3 separate regions of the Homo sapiens genome follow, and regions 1 and 3 are each linked to region 2. Evidence: promoter capture Hi-C in 16 types of primary human blood cells and fetal thymus (Javierre and others, 2016). All regions are on one chromosome and are shown on one strand. Each heading gives the region's core, a stretch centred on a gene start or on the middle of the fragment in contact. The rest is flanking DNA. Distances are from core to core; before and after follow the strand shown.

Region 1 (2,700 bases), core at 187-2,686, 90 kb before region 2:
CTCCCTGGGCCTCCCTTGTGCTAGGATTACAGGTGTGAGCCACGGCGCCCGGCCCATCTTTCTTCCTTTAAATCGTTTTCTTAGTTTTTATTCTTAATTCTTTTTTTTTTTTTTTTGAGACGGAGCCTCGCTCTGTCTCCCAGGCTGGAGTGCAGTGGCTCAATCAATCTCGGCTCACTGCAAGCTCCGCCTTCGGGGTTCACGCCATTCTCCTGCCTCAGCCTCCTAAGTAGCTGGGACTACAGGCGCCCGCCACCACGCCTGGCTAATTTTTTTGTACTTTTAGTAGAGACGGGGTTTCACCGTGTTAGCCAGGATGGTCTCGATCTCCTGACCTTCTGATCCGCCTGCCTTGGCCTCCTTATTCTTAATTCTTAAGAAATGCTGTGTGGGATGTGAGATTTCCGAGTCATTGTAGGACCCAAAATAGCTCCATTCTACCCTTATACACGTGAATGATCATTAGCTAGGCATGGAATTCGAGGTGTTTTTTTTTTCTTCTTCTTTGAGACGGAGTCTAGCTCTGTCACCCAGGCAGGAGTGCAGTGGTGTGATATCGGCTCACTGCAGCCTCCACTTCCCGGGTTCAAGCCGTTCTCCTGCCTCAGCCTCCCGAGTAGCTGGGACTACAGGCGCGCCACCACGCCCGGCTAATTTTTGTAGTTTTAGTAGAGACGGAGTTTCACCATGTTGGCCAAGCTGATCTTGAACTCCTGACCTCAGGTGATCCACCAGCCCCTGCCTCCCAAAGTGCTGGGATTACAGGCATGAGCCACCGCACCTGGCCAGGAATTCCAGTTTTAATATTAGGTTCCCTCAGAACTTTGAAAGAAATTGTTCTTTTGTACTCTCTCATCTAGTAGTGTTGATGACAAGTTCGGTGTTAATGTGATGTATTTATTTAACCAGCAGTTATATAGCATTTACCATTGTTTTAAGAACTTTATTATAACTTGTTTGATCCTCACAACCACATGACTTCTACTGTTGTAATTATTTTTATTACATACAAATAATAGAAGCACGTTATTTGGAGACAACCAATATTGTTATTATGTTATAATAATTACTATGTTTATTGGCCGGGTGCGGTGGCTCACGACTGTAATCCCAGCACTTTGGGAGGCTGAGGTGGGTGGATCACGAGGTCAAGAGATCCAGACCATCCTGGCTAACATGGTGAAACCCCATCTCTACTAAAAATACAAAAATTAGCTGCGCATGGTGGCGCGCCTGTAGTCCCAGCTACTTGGGAGGCTGAGGCAGGAGAATCACTTGCACCCGGGAGACAGACATTGCAGTGAGCCGAGATCCCGCCACTGCACTCCAGCCTGGTGACAGAGCGAGACTCCATCTCAGAAAAATAATGATTATTGTTATGTTTATTATTATTTCAGATGAGAAAATGGAAACACAGCAGGGTCGCGTATCATACCCAAGGTCACTCAGCTGATAAATGTCAGAGCTAGTGTGGAAACCAGAAGGACTTAATTTTTATGCTCATATGCTTTCATTCTTTTGTGATCAGTTTTCCTTCCTAGATTTTAAAAAGATCTTTTTCTTGATAGTGTAAACTTTCATTATTAGGTACCCAGGTATAGATGTTATTTTAAATTCAGATTCATTTTGATCAGTACGTGGCTCACTCTTTGAGTCTGGAGTCTTACGTTCTTCGGTTTTAGGGAATGCTGTTTGATGATTTCTTGACCTTTTTTTCTTCCCTTTCCAGACTCAGGATACTGGTCCTCTTAGACTCATGTATTTTTATTTTTATTTTCTCTCTCATTCTCTGGCTTTCCTTGAAACCTCCCCCAACCTTTGGTGTTTTTGCAGCTTTGTTGAGGTATACTTGACATAGAATAAACTGCAGGTAATTAAAGTGTACAATTTTCTTTTAACTTTTTTCGAGTTGAGGTCTTGCTCTGTCACCAGGCTGGAATGTAGTGTGCAATCATGGCTCACTGCAGCCTCAAAGTCCTGGGCTTAAAGTATATAATTTAATACAGTGCATACATCTGTGAAACCAGCACAACCAAGACAGTGAACGTGACCTCTAAAACATTCCTTCTGCCCTTTTGTAGTTCCTTTCTACTATCCCTCCCTGCCACCTGTCTTTTGCCAACCACTGACTGGTTTGCTTTCTGACCGTATGATAAGTTTTCATTTTCTATAATTTTTTATAAATGAGATTATATAGTATATACTCATTTTTTGCCTCAGTTACTTTCATTCAGTATACTTATTTTGAAATTCTTCCGTTGTTGTATGTGTCAGTAGTTTATTTCTTTTTTGTTTTTATTTTTTTTTGAGATGGAGTCTCGCTCTGTCGCCCAGGCTGGAGTGCAGTGGTGCGATCTCGGCTCACTGCAACCTCCACCTTCTGGGTTCAAGCAATTCTCCTGCCTCAGCCTCCCAAGCAGCTGGGATTACAGGCACATGCCACCACACCCGGCTAATTTTTGTATTTTTAGTAGAGATGGAGTTTCACCATGTTGGCCAGGCTGGTCTTGAACTCCTGACCTCAAGTATCTGCCTGCCTCGTCTTTTAATTTTTGGATAGTATTCTGTGTGTAGATACACCACATTTTATTTATTTATTCAGATGATTGATGAACATTGGGATTGTTTCCAGTTTTTGGCTTTCTGAAAAAGAAACCTATGAACATCTCTGTACAAGTCATTGTAGGGACGTATGCTTGC
Region 2 (2,700 bases), core at 104-2,603:
GGAGGCGGCGGCGGGCCCAGGCCGCCCTCCTGCTGCAGCTGCTGCGCCGCCTTGTCCTTGGCCTGCCGTTTCATCTTGTACCGGTGGTTCTGGAACCAGATCTTGACCTGCGTGGGCGTCAGGTGGATCATGCTGGCCAGGTGCTCGCGCTCGGGCGCCGACAGGTACTTCTGCTGCTTGAAGCGCCGCTCCAGCTCGTAGACCTGCGCCTGCGAGAAGAGCACGCGGCGCTTCCTTCGCGGAGCGGCTGCCGCCGCCGCCGCGTGCAGCGGGCCCAGCGACTTGGCGGCGTCCGCGATGCCGGTCAGCGACCCCATGCCGGCCACATTCACGCCCGCCGACGGCCCCATGAACCTGGAGACTGGGGAAGAGTCCCAAGGGGGAAGGCGAGTGAGCTCCAGGCCCGCCGGGAGCCGGTCCAGCCGCCGCTCTCTTCACGCCGCGGCCGCGACGCCGCCGGGCCCTCGCTGAATCCCAAGACCCCCTGACCGCCGCGGCCTCCGGCCCCAGCACGCCCCGCGCGCCCTCGGCGGGTCCCAGAGCACCACGCCCTCAACGGGTCCCAGGACGCCGCGCGCGTTCCCGGTCAGGTCCCAGGACCCCCCGCGCGCCCAGGGTCCCCAGAAACCCCGCGCGTCCCGGGCCGCGTCCCAGGACGCCCCGCGCGCCCGCTCGGCCCCAGGACCTCCTAAGCCGCGCGCACCCCGTCCCGCGCCCCCGCGCCCCTCGGCTGTGGCGGGAAACGCCTGAGCCGCCCGCAGCCCCGCGCTCCTGGCCCCTCTCACTTGACGAGTAGCGTGGGTCCGGGTTGGCGCCGTACCAGCCGGTGGCCGCGCCGCCCCGCATGCCGTCCGTGTAGGCGGGCAGCTCGCCCATGTTGCCCAGGCCGCCGTTGCAGTAGCTGCCCATGGCGCCGTGCGGGAACTGCGAGACGCCGGGCGGCATGTGGTAGGTGGCGGCCGCCGCCGCCGCAGCTGCTGCCGCCGCCGCCGCGGCCGCCGCGTTGTGACCCGCCATGGCGTGAGAAGGCTGCATGCCCGCCACGGTCGCCGCCTGCGAGGAGGGCCCAGGTGGCGGCGCGCGGTAGGCGGCCGCGGCCCCCAGGGGCGCCCCCAGGCCGGGTGGCGCGCCGTCCATGGCGCCGCTGAACTTCTTGTAGGTCTCCTCGATGGGGCTCAGGATGTCGGACACGGAGAAGGGCGTCGTGTGCTTTGGGCTCAACGACATGGCTCGGCGGGCAGCCAGGTAGGGGGGCCTGGGGCGCGCGCCGGCAGGACGCGGCGGCCGCTCGTCGCCGCCACCTCGGCCGCGGCAGCTGAGCCTGTGACGAGGAGTCGGCGGCTCGGCGAGCCCCCCGGGCTGCGGGATCTGGGGTTTATTTTAGTCCGGCGCCAGGTTTACGACAGACTCGGGGGGCGGAGCAACATCCCAAACGAGCAAACAATGGTCATTGACATCTTTTTCTCTCGCCCCCCCAACCCCCGCCCCATAATGGAGGCAAAAAAAGGTAAAAGGGGCAGTTGGGTGTTTCTTGGAAAGATCACTCCCCGTTGCTTTTCCCATCTTTGCTTTTCCCATCCTTTGCTTTTCCCATCCTTCGCTCCTCCATCCGCGGCCGTTACCCCAGCCCTCGAGCACCAGAAATAGAAACTCGGAGGCTGGCGTCGAGGCTAGACATGGACTCCGCGCCTGGCCCCTTCCAGATCCCAGTTTTCTAAAGTGACTTCGCACCAAAGTCCGGTATAATTGCGGAATGGGGAACGTGCTGCTAAGTTTGGGGGGAGGGTGTTGCGGGGGCTTGCTTCGTCCTCTCCAGTTATCAGCCCCTCATTCGCTCCATCACCTAAAGTGTTAAAAAAAAAAAAAAAGGCTCTTGGGTCCCACCGTAAGAGCGCATAAAGAGAGGAGGTACAATGACCGTCCTTTGCCATTGTAGGGCTCCCTAATTTATGCGTTTTTAGACCCTTAAGCATCATTTTGTGGGCAACCAAACGGGCACTTCCAAATTAGCTCAAAGTATCCAAGCCCAGAGAAGAGAGAAAACACACATACACTGATAAATACGCAGATGCTAACTTGTAAGTATTCTGTTTTTCCTCTGTGGGGATGGAAATTGAACAAGGGAAAGAGGGGGAACATTTTTATTTCCTAAAATGTTTCCTACTGAGTTTGCACTTGTAAAGTTTTTTCTGCTTTCTTTCCCTTTGTGTGTGTTCTTACTCTCTTTCTCTCAGTAAATATCTCTGACTTAAGTTTATTCTCCCATCACTACCGTGATCAAAAAGAAGAGAAAGACAAAATATCAAAACTTCCAAATATTTCTAGTTGTTCGCAACGGGTCTTTTTGTTGTTGTTGGAAAAATATAACCTGTTCAAGCGATATGAAAATGGATGCAGAAATCAGGTGAAAATTGTAGTTTCTTTGGAAAAATACAAAACCATAGATAAACAGATTTTTAAAACTTTGTCATCCTTTGACTTGCAGTTTTACCCGAATACTTAGACATTATGAACTCTCTACTAAATACTGAACAAGACAAAGCATAAGACAAAAGCAGTGTGCAAAGCATATTGATTAAATTTTGAAAACAATCTTGCAGCAATAATAATGATAACGAGAAAACAAAGATAACACTTTTAAGTTTTCCTGGAAACTGGAGCAGGAGAAAGAAAAACAAGGAGAGTGCTTTCTTAAGCAAT
Region 3 (2,700 bases), core at 31-2,530, 66 kb before region 2:
AGGGAACTGAATTCATGGACAATCTTGCTAAATGCCTTCGCTATTACATAGCTGATCGTTTAAATAATGACCCTGGGTGGAAAAATTTGACAGTAAGTTTCACATTTTGATACTTCAGAAAGATTAGGGTGATCATTCGAGGCTGTACTTTGATATGACTGACATTATTTATCCTTCTGCCCTGCCCCATAAAATGCTAGTTGACTGTTGGAAGAAAGAAAAGCTTCCAGGGTTTTTGGAGATGGGGTATCCTTGCATGGTTAGGTTTTAGATAGCTGAATTTTCTCTTAAAGCCAATTTTGTCCTCTTACCATCACTATGAAGCTATAAAATGGGATTCATAATTTAAAAAATATATATAGGAAAGTAATTTTTAAATGGAAATTTCCATTATTACATATCAATATACAGCAAAATTAGTAAGTTGTGGGGCTGTCTTAAATGGCTGTGTTCCCAAATATTTAAATAATATGTAAATGAACTTGTTTGTAATTTTAGGTTCATAAGCTGGCTTCCCTATTAATGAGAAATGGTAAATTATATTTTATAGATATGTGTTATTGATTATTCTTGGGGCATATATGGTTCAGCACTATATCCTTGCATAGTAGTGAAAATAGGAGCTTGTGAATGATCAGTTTTTCTGATGGCTAGGTCTGACCCAGACATTTCATTCCTTTCCATTACATGTAGTAAGTCAATCAATGAAGTGGTTTTGGTGTCTCTCACACACACACACCCCTTCTTTATTCAGAAAATTTTCAGTGAAGTAGTTTTGGTGTTTTTCACACACACACACACACACACACACACACACACACACACCCTTATTCAGAAAATTTTCCCGTAACACTTATCTCAGTTTTTCTTGAGACATATAATTCTTTTGATTTTTGTGCCTATAGAAAATTGGGGATAATCTGAAAGTGTTAACAATTTTTTTATAGGTTATTTTATCTGATGCTAGTGCTCCTGGTGAAGGAGAACATAAAATCATGGATTACATTAGAAGGCAAAGAGGTAAAGCTTACTTACCAATATTTGATTATATGTTCTATTTTTAAAAAGCCATTGCATAGAAAATACTTGGTATGAAGTGATATTCTTGTGGTATATAATATATTAATATAAATACATGTTTCTCTCTTGTTTAGCCCAGCCTAACCATGACCCAAATACTCATCATTGTTTATGTGGAGCAGATGGTAAGTTTCTTCTTTGGGATTTGCTTCTTTTGGATTAAACCATAGCAAGTTGATGGGTTGGTGTGCAGTAATGGATTATTCATGGTTACCTGGAAGTTCCAAAATGCCTTGGTTATTTTATGTTCGACAGGGAACTAGTATTGAGTTGCTGTTTAATCTGTGGTCAATGATCTTTAATTTCTTTTCTTCTTTCTTACATTTTTCAACCTTTTAACTCCCCATACCTTTAAAATGGAGAATTTCCCAAGTGTTTAATCCTTAGTGGCAGTCTATGTTGTAGGTCCACGTATCTAGAGGACTTCCTGTTAACTGGGAAATGCCAGGAAGTGTCAAGCTTTGGGGCTTTGCTGCTCATTTGGGTGCTCATTTGGGCTTTTCTTTGTGTTGGCATCTCATAGTAGTTTATGGTAAGACTTCTCTCAGAATACTCACTGTTCGATGTTTTTCTCATTGTTGATTGATAGCTGATCTCATTATGCTTGGCCTTGCCACACATGAACCGAACTTTACCATTATTAGAGAAGAATTCAAACCAAACAAGCCCAAACCATGTGGTCTTTGTAATCAGTTTGGACATGAGGTCAAAGATTGTGAAGGTTTGCCAAGAGAAAAGAAGGGAAAGGTAAGAACTTTGAGATGGTAGTTGCCTCATTAAAAAAAAAAATCTATTGTGGTAAAATGTATATGACATAAAATATCATTTCAACCATTTTAAAGTATACAATTAAATAGCATTAAATATTTGAGTTACCTTGTTTTTAAAATGGATGAAGAGAAGATTGTGGTTGATTAGTTCTTTATGTGCTTGTTCTGTTACCGTTACCCTTCACAGAGATGTATCTTTTTTCTTTTTTTTTTCTTTTGAGACAGTCTCGACAGAGACGAATCTTTTAAAGTACTTTAAAATAAACCTGCATTCAAAAACATGCACACACTCATCCTTTCTACTTAGCACTTTTTCTGATATTGCCTATATCTACACGAGGCTTAGTTCCCATAGATAATAATGCCCATAGCTTGTAATTTGTTTGTGGAAGTTATTTGTTTGAAATACTCTTCTTAAAAGGAACTACAACTTCTTAAGACTTTTAAGTTACTCCCACTTTTTATGTATTTTAGGTTCACTTGGTTATGTCCAGTCCCCTTTAAAGGGGCTTCTGTTTCAATAATATGGTGCCTCTTGAGTCATATGCTTTTTGAGGGGGGAAAAAGAATATGGTGCCTCTTTCAAAGACATCGTTAAGTGAAAAAAGAGATAAATATAGTGTATTATTTCAGATATGTAATACAATAAAGACAGTATACATGTATCTATGCACATCTGTTCACAAGGAAGGGGTAATCATTGGTTGGGTATAGGTCATCAGTTGGCAAACTTCAATCCTCCAGGTTTGGCCTGTGAGCTATGTTTTTTACATTTTTAAAGTGTTGTTAAAAACAAAATAAAACATGAAAGACTATTAAACAGAGATCATATATGTCCCCCAGTAGCCAA

The links. Contacts are between HindIII fragments. The CHiCAGO score rates a contact against its expected background, and 5 or more counts as called.
Region 1: a contact is called between a fragment that was not itself captured here and the fragment with the promoter of NKX2-4 in region 2, in 1 of 17 cell types (activated CD4 T cells). The highest score is 8.2, in activated CD4 T cells.
Region 3: a fragment that was not itself captured here is called in contact with the fragment with the promoter of NKX2-4 in region 2 in 1 of 17 cell types (activated CD4 T cells); the score reaches 5.4 in activated CD4 T cells.

The regions. Positions count from the first base shown.
Region 1 is chr20:21,305,648-21,308,347 of GRCh38, forward strand. All of the region lies in intron 1 of XRN2 (5'-3' exoribonuclease 2), which reads left to right. Among named protein-coding and RNA genes, the nearest start is that of XRN2, 3.7 kb to the left of the region's middle. The HindIII fragment of the contact is 4,700 bases long and covers 1-2,700 here.
Region 2 is chr20:21,396,173-21,398,872 of GRCh38, forward strand. NKX2-4 (NK2 homeobox 4) reads right to left here and starts at 1,354. Exons shown (of 2, transcript NM_033176.2): 1 at 786-1,354; 2 at 1-361. The coding sequence starts at 1,227. It overlaps LOC105372558 (a long non-coding RNA gene), which reads left to right and starts at 1,762. Exons shown (of 4, transcript XR_001754528.1): 1 at 1,762-2,404. The HindIII fragment of the contact is 6,496 bases long and covers 1-2,700 here.
Region 3 is chr20:21,330,614-21,333,313 of GRCh38, forward strand. XRN2 (5'-3' exoribonuclease 2) reads left to right here. Exons shown (of 30, transcript NM_012255.5): 6 at 3-92; 7 at 948-1,020; 8 at 1,155-1,205; 9 at 1,670-1,827. Among named protein-coding and RNA genes, the nearest start is that of XRN2, 29 kb to the left of the region's middle. The HindIII fragment of the contact is 513 bases long and covers 1,025-1,537 here.